4 separate regions of the Homo sapiens genome follow, and regions 1, 2 and 3 are each linked to region 4. The links are contacts of gene promoters, found by promoter capture Hi-C in blood cells and fetal thymus (Javierre and others, 2016). All regions are on one chromosome and are shown on one strand. Each heading gives the region's core, a stretch centred on a gene start or on the middle of the fragment in contact. The rest is flanking DNA. Distances are from core to core; before and after follow the strand shown.

Region 1 (2,711 bases), core at 170-2,669, 330 kb before region 4:
ACTGTTGGCTTGATTGTCACTCCTCTTCTTATCTGACCCCAACCAATTAAACGCCAGTGTTTTTCAACTCTTCGGCTAAGGGCAATTTTTTCTCCTACCTCTGTGCACACTGGATTGGTCAAAACAATTTTGCCCAAATCGGCCTTGACAGCACTAACTCTCCCTCCTGTCGACAGGGATCCTATGTTCACCATGAGCACTTCATTCTTAGACAGCTTTTGAACCTTTGCTGCTTTCTTGTCTCCTTCAGTGCGTACACCTAGAAGCCGTCTAAGCAGGAAATAGGAAATTTCCAATTCTGTGAATATCTCAGGTAAAGCTCCGACTGCACCAAGTATTTGCCCCACCATTCTGTCAGCCCGGCACAAAGTGGGGTCAATTTTTGTTCCAACTCCAATAAGACCGCCTGGAGCAGCATATTGCAGATCATTATGCTCCGCAAAAAGTGAAACAATTTTGGAAAAGATTGATTTACACATGAGTTTTCCTTCACTATCTTTGGAAACAATACCAGGTCTTACTTCTGTCTCCTGGCCCACCTTTAATACTCCTTTTAGGATACTACCACCAGCTACACCTCCCTTAAGGTCATCAACTTCACAGCCAGGTTTGTTGACATCAAAAGATCTAATAACAATAAGCCGGGGCTCTGAAGTAAAGTCTCTTGGGGGTACTGGAATTTTCTTTACTATGTACTCACAAACAACTTCAATATTGTATTTCAGCTGAGCCGAAATTGGAATAATGGGAGCTCCCTCTGCTACTGTACCTTGGACAAACGCAAGGATCTGCTCGTATTGTTCTTTAGCCTGCCTTTCTTTTACCAAATCAATTTTATTTTGTAGAATCAAAATATGCTTCAGTTTCATGATCTCTATAGCAGCCAGGTGTTCAGATGTCTGAGGCTGAGGGCAAGATTCATTACCAGCTATCAACAGAAGAGCTGCATCCATCACTGCTGCACCGTTCAGCATAGTAGCCATCAAAATATCGTGGCCAGGACAGTCAACAAAGGAAACATGTCTGACTAATCTGAAGTTCCCTTTGGTTCCTGGAATGTCTGTAGGAAACTCATCAGGCATACTGCTCCCACAAGATCGATAACATTCTGGCCGAGGGCAACTTGGGTCATCAAGTTGATAAATCTTAGCATTAGCATATCCAAGCTTGATTGTAATATTTCTTTCTAGTTCATTTTTGAACCTGACGGTGTGAACTCCAGAAATAGCTTTGACGACTGTGGATTTCCCATGAGCTACATGACCAATTGTACCTATATTAATTGTGGCTTGTCTGCTGATAACTTCGTGTGAAAGTGGCGTCAACTTGGTAACATCCAAGGTGGTGAGATCCTGACGCGAAAGGTGCGGCTGCCCCAGAGTCACCCCAGCTTCTCCGCCCGCCATGTTGCCAAAAGAGGAAGAAAGTCACCCCGGCTGCCGCCTGATCGTCTGCAGGGGTCCTAGTGCGGGGCGGGGATGCGGAGGCCGGAAGGTCGACTAGGGTCTCAGGATGGCCGGTGCAGCAGCGGCCTCAGTGCTTGGACTTCTCTCTGCTTGAATCTGCACAGTGCCTGTCGGTAGGCTTACTGGAAAACACGGTGCAAAGTTGCTGGAGCTATTCGTCGCAGACTTGGTAGATATTTGTGCAGGCAATACTGAGGGCAGCCACCCAAACCCCCGCCCCCTGGGCCCATGCGAGGCGGGTCGAAAATATATTTTCAGTTGACCACAGATAAATACTTAAAAAATTAATGGACCATTGTAATCTATTTATATGAAAATGGATCTTGTATATACAGCCTGCTATTACATTTCTAAGAAGACACAAAACCAGCAACACACTGAATAATTCTACACTAAATATTTTTCTTCTTTAAGAAGATTAATTATTAATATATTTATTTTTTGTTCGAAACAAATAGCTATGTCGTGGTTTATATTATAATTTTCATTTCTTCAAATTATGTTGGAGTGATGACCATTAATAGATGCTATATTGGAGATTTATTACAATAGCTTTATTGAGGTATAGTTTATATACAAAAAAACTGTGCATTTTTAACGTATACAATTTGATGAGTTTGGACATATGCATACATTCGTAATACCATCACCCAATGAAGATAGTAGGCATGTTTATCATCTACAAAGTTTTTCTTGAGTACCTTTATTTTGGGAGCAGAGGGCAAGTAAGACACTTGACATGAGATCTACCCTCCTAGCAGATTTTAAAGTGATCAACGTATTGTTGCTAACTATACGTACTATGTGGTACAGTATATCTCTAGAACTTATTCGTCTTTCGTAACTGAAACTTAACCAATTGAAAGTGAGTCCCTGGTAACCACCATTCTCTGTTCCTATGAATTTGACTACTTTAGATAACTCATATAGTATAATCATAAAGCATTTGTTCTTCTGTGACTGGCTTATTTTATTTAGCTTAATGTCCTCAAGGGTCATTCATGTTGTCATGAATGGCAGAATATTCTTTCTTTAAGGCTGAAGAATATTCCATCATATGTACATACTACATTTTCTTTATCTGTTCATCTGTCAGTGTACATTTAGGTTGTTTAAATATTATTTATTCTTGATAATCCTACCATTGATGTGGGAGTGCAGATATCTCTTCAAGATACTAATTTTAATTCTTTTGGATATACTGTATACCCAGAAGTGATATTATTGGGTTATATGGGTAGTTTT
Region 2 (2,700 bases), core at 6-2,505, 380 kb before region 4:
GTTATAAAAATCCAAAAACATGTGAAAGATGAGAATTTGAAATGTCTTATTTTTATAACAAAAGAAGTTTAACTCTAAAATAGGAGATGACTTCATGGCCTGCAGCTGGAGTTAATTATCGTGGCAAAAACAAACGGGTCCCAAACTGACTAAAAATCAGTTGCTTGACCAGCCATTTACTGAAATATTTTGCTTATTGGTCTAGGGAGATCACTACAAGCCCAGAAAGATGTAAAAGGATGCATTAATACAACTAATGGAAGTTATCAAGTGGAATTATAGCCTTAGAGAAGAATAAAAATTATAGGAATAACAAAAGAAATGAAGTTTAAAAACTATTGTTATATTTTAGGATAGGTTTAAGAGTAAGCAATAGGTTTTGTAATAATTTTCTTTGGGTATATTTGCTACTTAAGGTGTTTGAGGTGCTCAAAAGACTTAGCTTAACTAAATCTGTAATTGTAGTTTAAATTTGTATAGGACTTAAGTAATTTTGTATAGGACTTGAGTAATTATGTTGAAATCACTATTCAAATGTTTGAATAGCTTTCTTTCTTTTTTTTATTTTTTTAAGACAGGGTTTCTTGCTCTGTCACCCAGGCTGGAGTGCAATGGGCGATCTTGGTTCACTGCAGCCTCCACCTCCCGACTTCAAGTGATTCTCCTGCCTCAGTCTCCTGAGTAGCTGGGATTACAGGCATGGGCCACCATGCCTGGCTAATTTCTGTATTTTTAGTAGAGATGGGGTTTCACCATGTTGGCTAGGCTGATCTTTGAACTCCTGTCCTCAAGTGATCCGTCCACCTCAGCCTCCCAAAATGCTGGGATTACAGGCATGAGCCACCAGGCCAGGCTCAAATTCTTTTTATTAGTTAATTAGTTAACTATTTGTGTGTAACAAATTACTAAATTATCCCACAACTTATGCTTTTTTTGGGTCAGGAATCCAGCCATGGGTGACTCTGACTTAGAGTTTCTCACAAGGATGCCTTTGGGGTGTGGGTGAGGGCTACAGTCATCTGAAGGCTCAGTTGGGGCAGACTCATATGCAGCCTCATGCACATGCTGTTGGCTGGTGTGAGGTCCTCACTCACTGTTAACAGGAGAAATGTCAATGCCTTGCCTCATAGACCTCTCCATAGAGCTACTCACTTCATGGCAGTTTGTTATTCTGTTTTCTGCTGGGGACGTGTATGTGGGAGAGGGGAGTGGGAGAGAAAGAGGGAGAGAAAGAGAAACAGAGATGCCAACTTGAGCACACACTCTGGGAAGAAGATTATACAATGGCATGAATACCAAGAAGTGGAATGATGACTGGAGTTATTTTAGAGAAAGTCAACCACAATTACATATCATACATTTGATAAAAATGATTCAAATGACAAATATTAGTAAATATTAGTCACCACTTGTGAAAGCCTTTGGTAAAATTTATAGTGGTAAATTTGCATTATGTATCCCCATTAAACTACACATTCCTGGAAATCATGCATGGAGACTTCATCTTTTTCATCAGCAGGGAATAGTACTACCATGTGGTAGGTACTCCAAAAACTCAGGTTGAAGAGATGAATGAATGAGCATTGTTTGAGTTTGTAATCTTCATTTTACATGGCTCCTGATAATTTTTAGAAATCCAAACAGCAAGAATGCTTTCTGACAACGTATAAGACTTGTGCTATTTGCCATCACCTTATAAATTTAATTTTGCTCATTACAGTTTTCAAAAGGTTTTTCACTTCTGATTCTGTAATTTTGTACTAGGCCACCAGATGGCATCACCACATAAACCAAGCTCTAAAATCAAGGCTTATTTGAAAATTAGTCTTGCTGGTCAGAATGAAGTAATAACTATATTCTCATAAACTGCTGTAGCAAATGTTAGTAGATAACTACTGCACACAAATTTAGCAAAATATATTGATAACCTTAAAAAATGGTAGTACTTTTTGAGCCAATGAGTCTACTAGAAATCTATCTTCAGAAAATAATGTGGACAAAATGGTACACACTCAAGATTTTACCTTAGCATTATTGGAATTGTCAAATACCAGGTAAAATCTTGGGTCCAACAATAATGAAAGGGTTAGTATATATGATACAATCATACAATTAAAAAACATACACACTTTCAAATGACTTATGAAGTATTCAATGACATGAGAAATGCTTCTGGCATAATGCTAATTTATGAATTGGGTTGTAAACTAATGTGTGATTCCCAGTATGTTGCATAGAAATTATAGAAAGGAAACATATTAATGTAATTTTATAAGGAAGTGTTTTTCTCTCTTCATATTTCTCCTTGTTACTCCAATTTTTAACAATGACTCCTTGGAACATCATATGTTAATAAGAAAAAATCAAGTTAACAATAACATAACATTAGTTTTTTAGGGCTGGGCATGGTGGCTCACTCCTGTAATCCCAGCCCTTTGGGAGGCTGAGGCAGGTGGATCACCTGATATCAGGAGTTTGAGACTAGCCTGGCCAACATGATGAAACCCCATCTCTACCAAAAAATACTAAAGTTAGCTGTGTGTGGTGGCTCACACCTGTAGTCCCAGCTTACTCAGGAGGCTGAGGCAGCAGAATCCCTTCAATTTGGGAGGCTGAGATTGCAGTGAGCTAAGAAGGCACCATTGCACTCCAGCCTGGGCCACAGAGCAAGACTCTGTGTCAAATAAATTAAAAGCTTTT
Region 3 (2,803 bases), core at 304-2,803, 440 kb before region 4:
TTATTCTTGTGGTAAGTGTGGTGACCAACCCATCTCAGTTTGCCTGGGTGTTTCCAGGTATGGAAAGTCCCATTTCCCAGGAAACTCCACAGTCCTGGTCAAACTGGAACGGCTAGTCACCCTAGTGGTAAAACATGGTGCTTCCTGTTTCTTACGTACTTTCCAAAATGGTGGCCCATTGTAGGGACTGATTCATTTTTCTATATTAATAGTTATATAACTACTAATATGGACTCAAGGAAACGTGGCCCAATTTGCCTTTTTAGTCATTCTACTTGAACCTTATGCTCTAGCTATACCGAATTTCTTAGTGTTCCCCAAACATGAATTTTCACACCACTGTCTTTGCTCGGGTCATTTTCTGCCTGGAATGCTTTTTCATCCCACTGAACATACACAGAACTTACTTCTCAAGGTCCAATTCAAACACTTCCGTTGACAAGCCTTTTCCAATACTCTTTTTTCAAATTTCCCTACTCTGCAATAGAATGCTCTTGCTTCCTCTGCTGTACTACCGGCATGTTTTACACACTTTTTTTTTTTTAGACGAAGTTTCGCTCTTGTCACCCAGGCTGGAGTGCAACTGCGCGATCTCCGCCTCTCGGGTTCAAGCGATTCTCCTGCCTCAGCCTCCTGAGTAGCTAGGATTACAGGCACGTGCCACCAAACCTGGCTAATTTTTGTATTTTTAGTAAAGACAAGGTTTTGCCATGTTGGCCAGGCTGGTCTTGAACTCCTGACCTCGGGTGATTTGCCCCCTTTGGCCTCCCAAAGTGCTGGGATTACAGGCATGAGCCACTGCGCCCGGCCACATATAGGCTTTCTTTTCTTTTTCTTTTTTTTTTTTTTTTTTTTTTGAGACAGAGTTTCGCTCTTGTTGCCCAGGCTGGAATGCAGTGGCACGATCTCAGCTCACTGAAACCTCTGCCTCCAGGGTTCAAGCAATTCTCCTGCCTCAGCCTCCCGCGTATCTGGTATTACAGGCACGCGCCACCACGCCCAGCTAATTTTTTTGTATTTTTAATAGAGACGGGGTTTCACCATGCTGGCCAGGATGGCACATATATTCTTAATTATAGCAATTGCTCCCTTGTGCTGGTATTCGCCTTACGTGTTTGCTTTCTTTTCTAGACTACCAGATCAAATGGCTTATTTCTAGTTTCAAACTGTCACATAGGAAATGTTTGTTAAAACTAATGTTTTATAAAATTTAAAGCTTATTTTACATATTATCTCATTAGATCTCTCAAGAATTCTGTGAGCTTGGCAATGTAGATTGCTGTATATGCATTAGGCTGATGAACAAACAGGCTTAGAGATAGTCACTTGCCCGAGGTTAGTTAGCTGTTAAGTGTTGGGATTGAATCCCAGGTCTTCTCTCCACCACTTTCTACTAAAAATCACTGAAGGTTGTCAACCGACAGATAGGATTACTCTGTGTGTTGATAACAAAAGGGTGATCAATAATATCTGAAAAGGAAACTTTGTGTAAAAGTCTTTCCCTTACCTTAAAAACTACGCCACACTGGAGCATTCTTTCATTCCCCCAATTTAATTCTATCTGGCGAGAAACAATAATGGGCTAAACCATTATTGTATCGTAAGTCAAATTGCCAAAACTTCACAGGCTACTAAAAGTTAACCCTTATTGAATGAATTAAGAACCTTAGAAGTTCTGCTGTTAAAAAAAGCACGGTGACTGTCAGGGTTTTTCAGGTGTGGGGGGTGTGAGGGTTTTAAGAGTTGGATTCCTTTGACTTTGTCTCTATTATTATAGGCTTAGAGGTCCCGGGTAACTACCAATCGCTATCCAAAGGGAAAGCACCCTGTTAGAAATTAAGTAAGAAAAATAGTTTATATTCCCGGTCTGCCATTTCGATTCTAAGCTTTATCTTTATTTAGCTCACAGTTAAAGGGGGCATAGAGCCACACCCACCTCACAAACGCCGCAAGGATTGGGAGACCAGAAAAGTAAAAGTGACTTGCAAACCTTTAGCTCTAAGTCCATAAAAAAGACTATCATATGCTCACATTTCTAATCTTTGCTAGTATAATGTAATCTTTATTTTGAAAACAATGTGCCTCCATTCCTAGTAAAGCGAAAGTCACGGCGCTGCGACCCTCCCTTCAGCGCCTCCGGACTCTCACGCGATACTCGGCTTTCACGCTTTAGTCTAGGGCTGCACTGCAGGAGGAAGAGAAGCGCCTGTGGTGACGCACTTATTCCGCGCGATGACGTCACTGCAAGGCGCCGGGGGACACGTTGGCTGCGTTTTCGGCGGGCTTCCCGGGTACAAAAATGGCTGTGGCTAGCGATTTCTACCTGCGCTACTACGTAGGGCACAAGGGCAAGTTTGGGCACGAGTTTCTGGAGTTCGAATTTCGGCCGGACGGTGAGAAGAGGCCCACGGCACGCGGTGCTGGGAAAGGGGAGCGAGACCGAGAGGCCGGGTGGTGTGGAGGGTACAGGCGGCGGAGGCCACTGCTTCCCTCGAAGGAAATAGGAGCTTAAGAATAGAGGAGGCATAAGTTGGTTTTATAAATGAAAGAGAATTAATTGCAATAAATTAAAGCTAATCCTGTCACAAACTGAAAAGTTGAACCTACAGTAATCAGAATTCTGTAACAGTGCACCAGAAGGGACTCTAGATCGTCGCCCTGATTGAAAATGCTAGCACTTTTTTGAAAACACCCCCACCAGCGGGTGGTCCAGTGGATGAATAAAATCTTGTGGTGACCAGTACCTTTTTTTCATTTAGGCTGTGTGTTTTCTTTGAAGGGGAGGAGCCCAACGTGTTAACAA
Region 4 (2,840 bases), core at 290-2,789:
AGAAACCCGTGTTTGTGTTTTCATTGGAAAGAAATGGCCACTAACGATGAAAAAGCGTGTGTTTCCTCTACGCAACCATGGTACTTTCTTTCACTTTCTTCACTAAAGGTAAGAGAAGCCTAAAGTGCTCAGCAGAGAAAATGCTACTTTTCAGGCTTGTTGCAAAGAGAAAAGAAAGGAAAAATGAAGGGAAGACAAGGCAAAGGGAGTGAAGAGGAAGCAAAAAGAAAATATAAGAAAAAATGGATTTTCAGATACCACTTTAACTGTTCTATTAGCAAAAAAAAAAAAAAAACAAACCATACAGCCCACTCTGTACGGGGGCCATACGGGAATCTGAGACTATCCAGTTTTCTTCATTTGCTCTCCTTCTTGCTAGATGGCATAGCTCTATAAACTTCCCTGTGACAATTGTTTAGAATCCCTCAGTCCAGTGACCCTTTTCTCCACTAATGGATTACTCAGAGACTTCTGATTCATTGTGGGGCCCAAAATATTTTAAAAGAGCCCTGCCTCTCTTATTTCTAGACTAGAGGCACCTAAACTGCTAGAACAGGATTAGAAATTCCTGGATGGGAAATTCCGTTTAGGGGAATTACACACCTAGTTTTCATAATTTGTTTGGAATTTTGAGGGATGGGTGATAAGATGCTAAAAGAGATAAAATACTTCAGCGGCACTTCTAAAGTGCCACGGCAATCCTGCTCGTTTCCATGCTCACTCTAATTTCTGTCCCCCTTTTCATTGTCATTGCCATCAGTCACACATGCATCTATGCAATCTCGTAATACTAAGGAAACTTTGTAGTTTATTCATTTCCCTATGACCCCCTGGGTTCTGTATATGTCTCCCCACCCCGCAGTTCATTTCCTTTCAGACTCTTCTGAGAGTTGATTAATCTGGGGAAAAATACTCTTTCTGCCTTTTCACCACTGAACTCACCAGGATGAAATACAGCAGGGCTGAGGCCGCCACGACATGAACTCGGACTCCCATCGGGCTGAATTCCTGCTTCTTCAGAATCTTGCACTGGGCATCCGTTGCCTCCTTTCAATGCTCTGTGCCATATTTTACTTCTTGACCTAGAATTCTTAAGAAGAGAAACTTTTCTCAGGAATTTATCAGCTTTTCTCTCTCTCGTTCTCTCTGTCTCCTCCTACTCGCTCTGGCTGTTATTTTCTATGGCTTTTCCCTCTTCTTTCCTGTTTTTCTTCTTTATTCTTATTACTATTTCTATGGCCTCCACATTTACTTCCTTTTGCCTTCTTTCTTTCCGTTACACTATTAATTCTTTCTACATCTTGAAGTTTCTTTCTCCTACTGCTCCCAAAAAGGAGACATTCAAAGAGGACATATGTGTCCTCTGAATGAAGTATTTTTCTAGACAGCGATGAAAAACTTGGCTTTGAGGATGGTCAAAGGCAGATTGCTGGTGACCAAATATATTCCTTTCTTCATCAGAAAACTGGTAATATTCTTGATCCTTCACCAGAGTACTCCAGCGTGACTGTTGCAGGGTGAAAGTCACCCTGCTAATCTCCTTTCTTCTCTCTCCGTGTGACTAACAACCCCTTCTTGCTCTTTGAAACCCTCCCCTTCACTATGTTGATAATCAACTCTCCTGGTTCTGGGTCATTTATATCCCTAAGCATTGGGGTAAGACTGAGAGGTTGCCAAGTGAACAGGAAAGCCATCTCATCTTTGGAGAAAACAGACTTGAAGATGAGAAATCAAGTCGGAAGATTAGAATTTTCAGGTGTTATCAGTGACATCTTCCTCCTCCCTGACTTCACTTCCCATTGAAATAGATAACTGAGAAAGACATTTTTTTAAAACCAAATTTTAAAAAAGCAAATGTATAGGTTTCTTTCTTTCTTGCCTTTTCTTTGTTCCTTCTTTCTCTCTCTTTCTCTCTCTCTCTCTCTCTTTGGTTAAGGAGTGATGTGATTGAGAAATAAGTCTTGTCACTCAGGAAAATAAAACCTAAGGTTAGAGTAAAAACAAGCACACATGCAAAAGCATAGAATACTTTTTTTTTTTTTTTTTTTGAGACGGAGTCTTGCTCTGTCACCCAGGCTGGAGTGCAGTGGCGCAATCTCGGCTCACTGCAAACTCTGCCTCCTGGGTTCATGCCATTCTCCTGCCTCAGCCTCCCGAGTAGCTGGGAATACTGGCGCCCACCACCACGCCCGGCTAAGTTTTTTTGTATTTTTAGTAGAGACGAGACGGGGTTTCACCATGTTAACCAGAATGGTCTCGATCTCCTGACCTCATGATCCGCCCGACTCGGCCTCCCAAAGTGCTGGGATTACAGGCGTGAGCCACCGTGCCTGGCCTAGAATACTTACAATGAAACAAAGCTATAGACACAAATGTGGCCGGGTGCCATGGCTCATGCCTGTAATCCCAGCACTTTGGGAGGCCAAGGCGGGCTGATAACTTCGGCCAGGAGTTTGAGACCAGCCTGGAGAACATGATGAAACCCTTTCTCTACGAAACATACAAAAATTAGCTGTGTGTCATGGCAGGCACCTGTAATCCCAACTACTTGGGAGGCTGAAGCAGGAGGGCCACTTGAACCCGGAAGGCAGAAGTTGCAGTGAGCCGAGATCACACCACTGCACTCCAGCCTGGGTGATAGAGCGAGAATCTGCCTCAAAAAAGCAAAATATTAAAAGAAACAAAAGAATGCTGTATGAATGATTTATACTTAAGTAGGTGATCTTTTACTTAATACCAAATGTTTAATAAAAAAATTATTATTATTATTATTATTATTATTATTATTATTATTATTATTATTTGAGACAGAGTCTCTCTGTCACCAGGCTGGAGGGCAG

Evidence for each region. Contacts are between HindIII fragments. The CHiCAGO score rates a contact against its expected background, and 5 or more counts as called.
Region 1: the fragment with the promoter of EIF2S3B here is called in contact with the fragment with the promoter of TMEM52B in region 4 in 1 of 17 cell types (naive CD8 T cells); the score reaches 6.2 in naive CD8 T cells.
Region 2: a fragment that was not itself captured here is called in contact with the fragment with the promoter of TMEM52B in region 4 in 1 of 17 cell types (naive CD4 T cells); the score reaches 5.3 in naive CD4 T cells.
Region 3: a contact is called between a fragment that was not itself captured here and the fragment with the promoter of TMEM52B in region 4, in 1 of 17 cell types (naive CD8 T cells). The highest score is 5.1, in naive CD8 T cells.

What each region holds. Positions count from the first base shown.
Region 1 is chr12:10,504,598-10,507,308 of GRCh38, reverse strand. EIF2S3B (eukaryotic translation initiation factor 2 subunit gamma B) reads right to left here and starts at 1,419. Exons shown (of 1, transcript NM_001357734.3): 1 at 1-1,419. The coding sequence starts at 1,406. The region is part of intron 3 of LOC105369657 (a long non-coding RNA gene); the gene reads left to right. The HindIII fragment of the contact is 5,298 bases long and covers 1,169-2,711 here.
Region 2 is chr12:10,561,580-10,564,279 of GRCh38, reverse strand. The region is part of intron 1 of LINC02446 (long intergenic non-protein coding RNA 2446); the gene reads right to left. Among named protein-coding and RNA genes, the nearest start is that of LINC02446, 9.6 kb to the right of the region's middle. The HindIII fragment of the contact is 2,885 bases long and covers 1-2,697 here.
Region 3 is chr12:10,613,029-10,615,831 of GRCh38, reverse strand. It overlaps MAGOHB (mago homolog B, exon junction complex subunit), which reads left to right and starts at 2,223. Exons shown (of 5, transcript NM_018048.5): 1 at 2,223-2,393. The coding sequence starts at 2,300. RefSeq lists enhancers at 1,409-2,286, 2,103-2,502, 2,287-2,803. The HindIII fragment of the contact is 670 bases long and covers 1,219-1,888 here.
Region 4 is chr12:10,177,731-10,180,570 of GRCh38, reverse strand. It overlaps TMEM52B (transmembrane protein 52B), which reads right to left and starts at 1,539. Exons shown (of 5, transcript NM_001384896.1): 1 at 943-1,539. The coding sequence starts at 996. RefSeq lists an enhancer at 1-1,181. The HindIII fragment of the contact is 29,503 bases long and covers 1-2,840 here.